Linked DNA regions of Homo sapiens: region 1 is linked to region 2. Evidence: promoter capture Hi-C in human tissues and cell types (Jung and others, 2019). All regions are on one chromosome and are shown on one strand. Each heading gives the region's core, a stretch centred on a gene start or on the middle of the fragment in contact. The rest is flanking DNA. Distances are from core to core; before and after follow the strand shown. Region 1 has its middle 7.6 kb from the start of BNC2. Region 2 holds the start of CNTLN (centlein).

Region 1 (5,848 bases), core at 1,956-4,455, 260 kb after region 2:
GGACAATGGCATGAACCCGGGAGGTGGAGCTTGCAGTGAGCTGAGATCGCGCCACTGCACTCCAGCATGGGCAACAGAGTGAAACTCCGTCTCAAAAAAAAAAAAAAAAAAACCTGGGGGACAGCTACATGCTGAGTCCTTAGACCAGATAGTTAAAGCTTCAGAGTCTTTCTCAACCATATGATAGCGATAATAATGCCTGGCTCTGCAGTTTGTTGGAATGATTCAGTAATATAAAGAAAATGATAGAGAACTTGACCCATAGCAGATACTTAGTACAATTATTCTGTAATCATAAATGATCTAAATGTAGCTGTGCCTCTTTTTCAGAGGGGCTTCAATCCACCTTTGGAAATAGGTGGTAGTTAAGTTGGCACAGACACGAATCATTAAAGAGGAAGTAGTGCATCCAGCTGGAGAGTCAAGAGAAAAATACAGAAATAATTATGCATGTGTGCAGGGAAGGCTATCCCAGCAGAGCAGTGGATTCTTGCTGGGTTGGGAAAAAACACGGTATAAACAAGGTGAATCATTTATTCATTCCACACAAACTTGCTGAACAACTATTAGGTACCAGGCACTGTACAAGGTGTGGGCGTTGAAAAAAAGTGAGCCTTGAGAAGAAGACATTACAATTTGCCTTGACATGGTGGAAAACAGGGCAAGAGCCAGACACGGTGGCTTATGCCTGTAATCCCAGCACTTTGGGAGGCTGAGGCTGGTGAATCACCTGAGGTCAGGAGCTCAGGACCAGCCTCGCCAACATGGCAAAACACCATCTGTACTGGAAATACAAAAAATTAGCTGGGTGTGGTGGCATGCACCTGTACTCCCAGCTACTTGGGAGGCTGAGGCAGGAGAATTGCGTGAACCTGGGAGGCGGAGCTTGAAGTGAGCTGAGATTGCGCCACTGCACTCCAGCCTGGGCAACAGAGCGAGACTCCGTCTCAAAAAAAAAAAAAAAAAAAAAAGAAAGTTACCATTGTTAAAATAAACATTTTAAACAGAAAACATAAGTTGCCCTATCTGATAGTCTTGATCTTGGTTTCTTGATAAAGTTTCCATAGGTAGAAAATTTCTTTCATTTCCTGTTGACATTGGTCAAATTGATAAGAGGAAGTCAGATTTTTAAGATTAAGTCAGAAAGCATGCTAAAGTTGACATTAGTGTATATATTCCTCCGTATAAACTCATTTTCTCTTTTAGTGATGACAATATTTTGTCTGCTCTTATTTTTGTTTTGCTACTGAGATTGAATTGCTTTTTAAAATTCATATTTTTTTCCATAACATTTATATATTTTTTCTTTTTATTTACCAAGAACTGTAGTCCATTGTGAATATATTGGGTAGTATTTGAATAACGTAACATTCAGGATCTCCTAGAAAAGTTAAGAGCACTACACAAAATCGTGTGTTGAAATTGTCTATGTAAGGACTTACTTTGTTTCTAAAACATGTTATTTCTTGAAAGACAACTCATAGGATTTGTAAATAATATTTTATGCAATAAACTTACATTTACTTAATTTGCAAGAATGACTCATCAACAGGAGCAGATGGGGGCCAGGAACACACACTTATGTGGCCACAACTACAAATAAAACTAACTGATTAGATGGTAACCACTTCTGAAAATGTCACCTTAACTCCACTTTGTGTCAGCATTTCCTGCTGTTGAGTTCATGCTAACTAGTACTGTCTCTGTTGATTGTTAACTTTTAATTCTCACAGGGGAATGATAAATGATAATACTTTTCCCGTTTTACTGATTTCTTCATAGATTTTTCTCAGAATTTGGAAAAAAATATGTAAATTTTATAGGAAATGACAGGAGGGAATTCCTACATGGAAACTGTAAATAGACATGTCATTTCTCTGTAATTTAGAAAGCTTCAAGCTGCAATTAATAAAATGCAACCTCAAAATAGACTAAATGATAAGGGGATTGATTATATCACATAACAAGAAGTTTCACGCCATCTGGGGTTAGTTAATTCAGTAAGTCAGTAACATCAACAAGAGCTCAGGGGCTTACCACCTTCCCACTCTATCATTCCAGGTATGTGGGGTCCCTTTTGGTCACAAGGTGGATGCAGCTGCTTTGAAGTACCACAGTCTCATATACTAACATCCAGAGCAGAAAAGGGACAATCTATTTCTTGCCATTTTGGTTTTTTTAGTTTTAATGCATAATCTTTCCCTGACACCCCTCCAATGACTTCCTCATCCTTCATTGGCTAGAACTAACATGCTCATCCTTAAACCAATGACAGCAAGGGGGAAGAGGGCCACCATAATGGGTTTAGAACAATCTAGTTTAACCTGAGGTATGGAAGGGACACTAACTGTTGTGTACACCAGCCATTCTCTAACGATCTCTTTGGTTTTTTTTTTTTTTTTGAGACGGAGTCTTGCTCTGTCGCCCAGGCTGGAGTGCAGTGGCGTCATCCCGGGTCACTGCAACCTCTGCCTCCTGGGTTCGAGGGATTTTCCTGTCTTAGCCTCCCGAATAGCTGGGATTACAGTAGGGTGCCCGCCACCACGCCCGGCTAATTTTTGTATTTTTAGTAGAGATGGGGTTTTGCCATGCTGGCCAGGCTAGTCTTGAATTCCGGGCCTCAGGCAATCCACCCACCTCAGGCTCCCAAAGTGCTGGGATTACAGGCGTGAGCCACCACGCCCAGCCACGATCTCATGACGTCTTAAAAATTATTGAAGAATTCAAAGAGCTTTTTTTTTTTTTTTTTGAGACAGAGTTTCGCTCTTGTTGCCCAGACTGGAGTGCAATGGCACAGTCTCGGCTCACTGCAACCTCCGCCTCATGGGTTCAAGCGATTCTCCTGCCTCAGCCTCCTGAGTAGCTGGGATTACAGGCATGCAGCACCACGCCCAGCTAATTTTGTAGTTTTAGCAGACACAGGGTTTCCCCATGTTGGTCAGGCTGGTATCGAACTCCTGATTTCAGGTGCTTTGCCAGCCTCCGCCTCCCAAAGTGCTGGGACTACATGCGTGAGCCACCACGCCACCTAGAGCTTTTGTTGATAAACATCAATAGCTACTGATGTTTATTTTATGAGAAAAATTTGTTATTAATTCATTTAAAATAACAATATTAAACCCATCACTTGTTACTATACTGTGGTAGACAGAATAATGACCCTTAATGATGGTTCATATCCTAATCCCTGAAACCTGTGAATATGCAGATATGATTAAATTAACGATCTTGAGATGGGGAGATTATCCTGCATCATCTAGATAGACCCAGTGTAATCACTCATGTACTTATAATTGAAAGAGGGAGGAAGAAGGCTCAGTGTCACAGTGGTATGGCATGAGAAAGACATGTCTGGTTATTACAGGCTTTGAAGATGGAAGGGGGCCATAAGCCAAGCATTGGGGGTGACCTTTAGAATCTGTAAGAAATAAGGAAATAGATTCTCCCCTAGGGACTCCAAAAAGAAACACAGGCTCACAAACATGTTTTAGTTTAGTGAAACCTATTTCAGATTTCTGACCTCTAAAATTATAATGAATTTGTGTTGTTTAATCCACTTAATCTGTGGTAATTTGTCACGGTGAGAGGTGACAGCGTGCTGGCAGCCCTCGCAGCCCACACTCCCTCTCTGCGCTTCCTAGGCCTTGGCGCCCACTCTGGCTGTGCTTGAGGAGCCCTTCGGCCCACCGCTGCACCGTGGGAGCCCCTTTCTGGTATGGCCAAGGCAGGAGCCGGCTCCCTCAGCTTGCCGGGAGGTGTGGAGGGAGAGGTGCAGGTGGGAACCCAGGGCTGCGCGTGGCGCTTGTGGGCCAGCACGAGTTCTGGGTGGGTGTGGTCTCAGCGGGCCCGCAATTGGATCGGCCAGCAGGCCAGCAAGCCCCGGACAGTGAGGGGCTTAGCACCTGGGCCAGCAGCTGCTGTGCTCCTTCTCGATTTCTCTAGGGGCCTTAGCTGCCTCCTAGCCGGGCAGAGCTTGGGACTTGCAGCCTGCCATGCCTGAGCCCACCCCGCCCCTCCAATGGGCTCCTGTGCAGCCGGAGCCTCCCTGACGAGCACCACTCCCAGCTCCATGGAGCCCAGTCCCGCAGGGTGCGGGACTGGCAGGCAGCTCCACCTGCAGCCCAGTGCGGGATCCAATGGGTGAAGCCAGCTGGGCTCCTGAGTCTGGTGGGGACTTGGAGAGTCTTTATGTCTAGGTAAGGGATTGTAAATACACCAATCAGCACTTTGTATCTAACTCAAGTTTTGTAAACACACCAATCAGCACCTTGTGTCTAGCTCAGCGTTTGTGAGTGCACCAATCAGCACTCTGTATCTAGTTAATCTGGTGGGGACTTGGAGAACCTTTAAGTATAGCTAAGGGATTGTAAATACACCAATCAGCACTCTGTATCTAGCTCAAAGTTTGTAAACACACCAATCAGCACCCTGTGTTTAGCTCAGGGTTTGTGAATGCACCAATCGGCACTGTGTATCTAGTTAATCTGGTGGGGACTTGGAGAACCTTTATGTCTAGCTAAGGGATTGTGAATGCACCAATTGGCACGCTGTATGTAGCTCAAAGTTTGTAAATGCACCAATCAGCACTCTGTGTCTAGCTCAGGGTTTGTCAATACACCAATTGACACTCTGTATCTAGCTAATCTAGTGGGGAGGTGGAGAACTTTTGTGTCTAGCTCAAGGATTGTAACTGCACCAATCAGCACCCTGTCAAAACAGACCAATCAGCTCTCTGTAAAACAGACCAATCAGCTCTCTGTAAAATGGACCAATCAGCAGGATGTGGGTGGGGCCAGATAAGAGAATAAAAGCAGGCTGCCCGAGCCAGCAGGGGCAACCGGTTTGGGTCCCCTTCCACCCTGTGGAAGCTTTGTTCTTTGCAATAAATCTTGCTGCTGCTGACTCTTTGGGTCCACACTGCCTTTATGAGCTATAACACTCACTGCGAAGGTGTGCAGCTTCACTCCTGAAGCCAGTGAGACCACGAACCCCCTGGGAGGAACAAGCAACTCCAGAGGCCCTGCCTTAAGAGTTGTAACACTCACCGCGAAGGTCTGCAGCTGCACTCCTGAGCCAGCAAGACCATGAACCCACCAGAAGGAAGAAACGCCAAACACATCTGAACGTCAAAAGCAACAAACTCCAGACACGCCATCTTTAAGAACCGTAACACTCACCGTGAGGGTCCGCGGCTTCATTCTTGAAGTCAGAGTAAGAATCCACGAATTCCGGACACAATGGCAGCTACAGGAAATGAATATATACTCACATTTTAAAATGAAAAACAAAAACAGGATCGGTGCGGTGGCCCACGCCTGTAATTCCACTTTGAGAGGCCGAGGTGGGTGGATCATTTGAGGTCAGGAGTTTGAGACTAGCCTGGCCAAAATGATGAAACCCCGTCTCTACTAAAAATACAAAAACTAGCCGGATGTGGCACGCACCTGTAGTTCCAGCTACTCGGGAGGGTGAGGCAGAAGAATTGTTTGAACCTGGGAGGCGGAGGTTGCAGTGAGCCGAGATTGCGCCACTGAACTCCAGCCTGAGCGACACAGAGAGATTCCATCACAAAAAGAAAAAAAGCGAGAAGAGGAGTGCACTGATTTACATTTTTGGCACATTTCTTTAACAGCTGATTAAGACAGGTGGGTTCTCGTATCTGGTTCTGCATTCAGTCTGTTGTGATACCACCTGTTACAGTGTCATTGGAAAACTCCACTGTACACACAGGAGAGAATGTAAGAAAAGCAAATAATTTCCCAGTATTGTAATAAAAATAGTTTTGACTTCATGGACCTCCTAAAAGGGTCTTGGTGATCCTTAGGGGTCCCGAGACCATACTTTGAGG
Region 2 (5,509 bases), core at 2,209-4,708:
TAAAATATAACTGGCTGACTTCTCTGATCACATACAATTCCAACATCGCCTGCTTCAAAAGTTGGTTTCATCATTAAAGTGGATGAGCTTTAATGATGAAACTAATTTCATATTTCATTTAAATACCCTAATTTTTTTCCTAAAACTGGCTTATAGGTTTAGTCAATATTTTTGCCTGATACCAAAAAATAAGCTTTATAAATGCTATATAAACATATTACTCTTTCTATGTAAACATAACACTTTTTTCTCATCTCACTCTATAAATGGTGATAAATGTACAAATACACATGCCCCAGCATCCTTTATCACAAACAGAACACATTCTTGAAATATATAATCAAAATTAAAAGTGTAGTGGAGTTAGGTTCTAAATTAGTGAAATAGGGCATTAAATGCCATGGATGCAAAATTACCCTTTGGAACACCCTTGAAAAATTCCTTAGGAAAAAGCTACATTTGGAAGCTTACCTACTACCCTCAGTAAGTCCAATACAGATAGCTTTTCTTCCCTCATTGAAATTAATCACTTTTTCTTCATATAAGCATTATTTATAGTTCAGTTGCTAATCAGGGGGCCATATTTTTTTAAAGTTTAATTAGATAATACAATCACTTAGAGTGGGATGAGATGCTGATATTAAGAGAAACATTTGATTGCTTTCTATTACATGCTTATTCTGAGGCATTCCAATGATGTAGAATGGTATGGGGAATTACTCAAACTTCACCAAGCACACATCACTGAATTCCCATAAGTTGAATGTGAAAGCAAAACAAATTAAATGAAGCTACTACTTATGACCATGGACTAATTAGCAGTGTTCTTTTTCCTAAACTGTATGTTTCAAGCCTTGTTGGGTTCTGAAATTAATTTAGATCTGGACAGCATTTTTTAAAGGAATAGAACTGAAAAAATATCAGCCCACACAGTATTAGGGCATGTATTCTTTCTGAAAATATATGTTTGTATATGTGTGTACTTACTAGATTGAGATACAAAATTTTACTTCGAGTTGTAATTTTCAGCAGTTTTAATGCTATGTATTCTTGGGTACTGTGATCTCTAGCTGAATAAATAAGCGGGAGAGTATACTTTAAAAGATATAAAAGTGAATATTTAATCACCTAAATGCTTTTTACAAAACAATTGGGAGTTCAATTACTATTTTTCCCCAAGATTCCCGAAGAGCAGGAGTCTGATTTGACTAAGATTTTTATGGTGCGGGATACTGCCTACAATTATATAAGAGTATTAATATTACAAAATCTAAGAGATCATCATTCTAGACTATTATGACCATCTCTGTATTCTTACATTTGCCAAGAGTATGTCAATCATTTTCCTAGTCTATATATGTCCGAGGTCACAAAAGCCAACACCATGTTTGGAGCCACATTTTTAAAGAATGTAAGTATTTGTGGGAAGAGGTTCATCAGGCTGTTTCCAATAGACTGACTTCCTTAACCAAGTCGGTCATAAAAAAGTATCTTAGCTCTTTAGCCAGCTAAAGGCCTAACTATGTGGGGAGGCAGAAGTGGGAGGAAAGAGTGCGGAAAATATGCCAAAGAGTGTCTTAGATTAGGACTCAGAGTATCAAAGGCCTTTATCATGGGTTCACATCTTAAAACTCCCCAAAGGGTGAGGTCTGCAGATGACAAATGCTTCAATTCATTGTTGTCATTTATTTATCCCTTTGCTCCTTATCCAACGAAGAACAGAAAAATGGTAAAACGAAAAGAGGGCACCATATTAAATGTCCCAACCTTGTTTAACCAAAGGCACATTCAATTTGAAGATGGTCCCATTTTTACACCCTTCACTCAGTCAGCAAGGACCTATAAAATGGGCAAAAGAATCCAACAGAACAAACTATGAGAGAATGAATTTCTGTAATCCCAGCACTTTGGAAGGCCAAGGCTGGCGGACCACGAGGTCAGGAGATCGAGACTGTCCTGGCTAACACGGTGAAACCCCATCTCTACTAAAAATACAAAAAATTAGCCAGGCGTGGTGGCGGACACCTGTAGTCCCAGCTATTCGGGAGGCTGAGGCTGGAGAATGGCGTGAACCCGGGAGGCGGAGCTTGCAGTGAGCTGAGACTGCACCACTGCACTCCAGCCTGGGCGACAGAGAATGAATTTCATGAACTGTTTTATTAAACTGATGATACTGTTCACAAAGTTACTTTGATGTTCAGCAGCTCCTAATTGGTTTCTAAGTTGAAGACAGAGTGACTTAAAGATCTACTGTTCAGTGAGTTTCCCACATCCAATCTCCCAACCCTATCTAAAGGTTCTGGTAAAATCAAAAGAGATGATGGTAAGGATGCAAAACTAAAGGAAAATTCAATCTCTTTGAACATGAGTATAGTCAAGTCCATCCTTACAAAAACTCTACAAACAGGAAAGTAATTTTAATGCAATTGATTTAGCAAATGTTTTTCACTGGCAAGATCACATGAAAATGTGATTTCTCACTCAAGGACCGCGGAATTACCATAGCTGGTTAATAAACAAGTACCAAGCATCATCTATTGTTAAGTTCCCGGCTCTGAGACTTTCTAAACGTTACTCGTCTGTGTTTACAACTTAAGTTTGACTGGGTAAAAACAAAGCCAAGTGTGGGTTTGAAATTTTAAAAACAGGCTCCTTCATCGATGGATTTTACTCTAACCGAAGTGTTTACACTTTCCTGTTCATTTCAACTAGTGGACTGCATGTCACTCCTGGGCCCCCGGCAGGTATCAGCTACCGTCACCACCAAGAACTTGGGCTTGGGGGGGAAGCGGAGAGGATGCGACTGCGAGTATCCAAGTGACCAAAACCAAACCCGGGCGCGGAGGCGAAGCCTGTCTGGCCGCAGTTCGGAAAGGGGCAGGGGCCCGGGTTTGGGGAGCCGGGCGCAGCCGCGTCCCTCCAGCCCCCGGCCGCGAGCGAAGCAGGGTGTGCATCTGCCAGGGAGCGTCGCTGGGCGGGGTAGGTCCCAAGGCAGAGGGAGAAAGGCGCGCCTCCCCACGGGTCCCGGCCCCGCTGTGGTGGGGAAAGGGGGACTGCGAGACTCCTCGATACCTGACACAGGGCCAACTCCTCCTTTAGGCTGCTCAGCTCTTCCTCCAGCAGCTGCGTCCGGGTCACCATCGCCTCCTCTACCGAGATGCCCTCTAGCCGTCTGGACCCCATGGGCGCGCTGAGGAGGGGAGCATGAGCCGGAGCTGCCCCCCCAGGCCCTCGCCGGCCCCCTGACCCTTCTTCACCCACCCAGATTTTATCACTTTCGTCCGCGACCACCTCCCGCGCTGCGCCGGCAAAACCCGAGGCCTCGCTGCGCATTGCGTGTACTTCAGCTCCCCGCCCAACACGTGGGGACCTGGGGCCCAGCTGTCGCGCTGGGGGCGAAGGGTGCGGTGAGGGAGGCGAACGCGCCGCCATGGCTGCGGCTGCTAACGGGTCAAGTTCCCTGTTGGAAACTCCACCTCCCTTTCCCCAACCCGGCGAGCCCGGAACGCCGAACCGCGCATGCGCGAGGCTTTTCCCGCCTTGGCCCGCGGTGTCCCGTGTTCTCTGGTCCTGGCCGGCTTCCCGCGGGCAATGCGCCCAGCGCGAGCCTTGGGGTACGCACGCGCCGTGGCCCGAAAGGGTAAGGCCGGTCCGCCGGGCAGGCCATCCCAGCGTCCTGTGCCTGAGTCCTTGGCCAGGATCGCCTGGATTTCCCGCCCACCTAAAGCCCTGCCTGCCACTTACATCCCACCTCTTAAAGCCTTCCTTGACAAGCCCCCAGCCCCAAATGATCCTTAACTGTGAAATCCCTCTCCTTCAAGGCCCCTGCCAACTCGTGTGACACGTTTCATTGACCGCCCTGGAGTGTCAGTTACACGGCTAATCTCCCCAGCCCTGTTGTAAGCTCCTTGAGGATCAAGGAATACGTTTTACACTTAAGTGTTTTCTTCACACCCCTTGGCAAAACTGCTTTAGTACAGCTGACATCCAGCTGACTAATGTCAAGGAGATGTGGAAAGCCTTGTGCTGATCTGGGACTATCAAGCAGGTTTCCAACTTGAATGATGATCCTTTGTACACCCTTTGTCTTTTGTTTTGCAGGAGTCATGATTTCCTTTGAGTTTTTATGTCAGCTTCTTTATGCGTTGGCTGGATATCAGAGGAAGTGTAGCCCACATTGCTGAACAGTTTGGGTCCTTGGAGCAGTTTGAAATCAGTAATTTGGAGCGTGGATGAAGAAACAAGACCTACTTTATCTTTTGTTCTCTTTTTTTTCTTTTTCTTCTGGCTTTCTTTATAAACTTCAAATAGGTAGTAATCGTATCTTTCTTTGCCCTTCAAATACTTTGTTACTATTGATAAGATTAATGAGATGCATATTGAGCTGGCACCAGAACATCCCTGAAAGTTAGAACTGCCCTCTTCTTCAGAAAGGGTTCCAGAATACTTGGGGAAAGCTGAGATGGGGGTTGAGAGCAGAAGTAGAGAGATGACCACTTTACTGTTAACTTCATTTAACCAAAATATCACCATCTCTGCATGAGAATCTAGTCAGGATGCCAAAAGACACCCTCCCAATTAGAATCCTGCCAAGGCAACCAAGATAAGTGGACTTCTTTCAAACTGAAGGTGAATTCCTCACAAAAACTTATTAAAGAGTACATTAGAAAAAGTATGTTTATAAGCCTGTCTTAGAACTAGCTAACCTACTGAACATTTACCATATGCTGAGTCCAGTGCTAAGCACTTTTCATATATGAACTCACTTAATACATATGTCACCTTCAATTAGATTATTATATATCTCCATTTTTACTAGTGAGGAAACAGACTTGCAAGGTTACTGTAACTTCTCTGAAGTGCCATGTCTGGTATCAGAAAAGCTAGGCTTTGAATTCACTGAATTCCACTTAACTCTGAAAACCTGTACTTTGATCGCTACCCTGTCTCCACACCTGTGACTTGAAATACAACATTTGGTCTTGATAGTCTGTGAGATTTCACTAGACTTAAGACTGGGAAGTCTAACCACATAAGTTACGTGTTTGGCCCCAAATCAGTATTAATGCACATTTTTAATTGCTGTATGTCATTCACTCAAAAGGACATCATTTCACCTGATCATAAAAAGATCCTTTTGAAAAGCAGTGGTATAAATATGTATATGTGACCTCCCAAAAGGATAATATCCTGACTCTTTGACTAGGCATTTTTTTAAATTTTGTCTTTATTGGAGCAAAATACACAAAATACACAACATAAAATTTACCATCGTAGGCATTTTAAATGGCTACAAATAGGCCAGGCGTGGTAGCTCACGACTGCAATCCCAGCACTTTGGGAGGCCGAGGCTGGTGGATCACTTGAGACCAGGAGTTCGAGACCAGCCTGGACAACATAGTGAAACCCCGTCTCTGCTAAAAATACAAAAATTAGCTGGGAGTGGTGGTGCATTCCCGTAATCCCAGCTACTAGAGAGGCCACGGCAGGAGAATCATTGGAACACGGG

What was found. The method cuts DNA at HindIII sites, captures the fragments that hold promoters and counts their contacts. A contact is called where the count stands out against the background at its distance.
Region 1: a contact is called between a fragment that was not itself captured here and the fragment with the promoter of CNTLN in region 2, in 1 of the 25 tissues and cell types used here (small bowel).

What each region holds. Positions count from the first base shown.
Region 1 is chr9:16,875,351-16,881,198 of GRCh38, reverse strand. No RefSeq gene overlaps it. Among named protein-coding and RNA genes, the nearest start is that of BNC2, 7.6 kb to the right of the region's middle. The HindIII fragment of the contact is 4,359 bases long and covers 1,026-5,384 here.
Region 2 is chr9:17,132,989-17,138,497 of GRCh38, reverse strand. It overlaps CNTLN (centlein), which reads right to left and starts at 3,458. Exons shown (of 26, transcript NM_017738.4): 1 at 3,073-3,458. The coding sequence starts at 3,432. RefSeq lists an enhancer at 2,614-3,177. The HindIII fragment of the contact is 19,584 bases long and covers 1-5,509 here.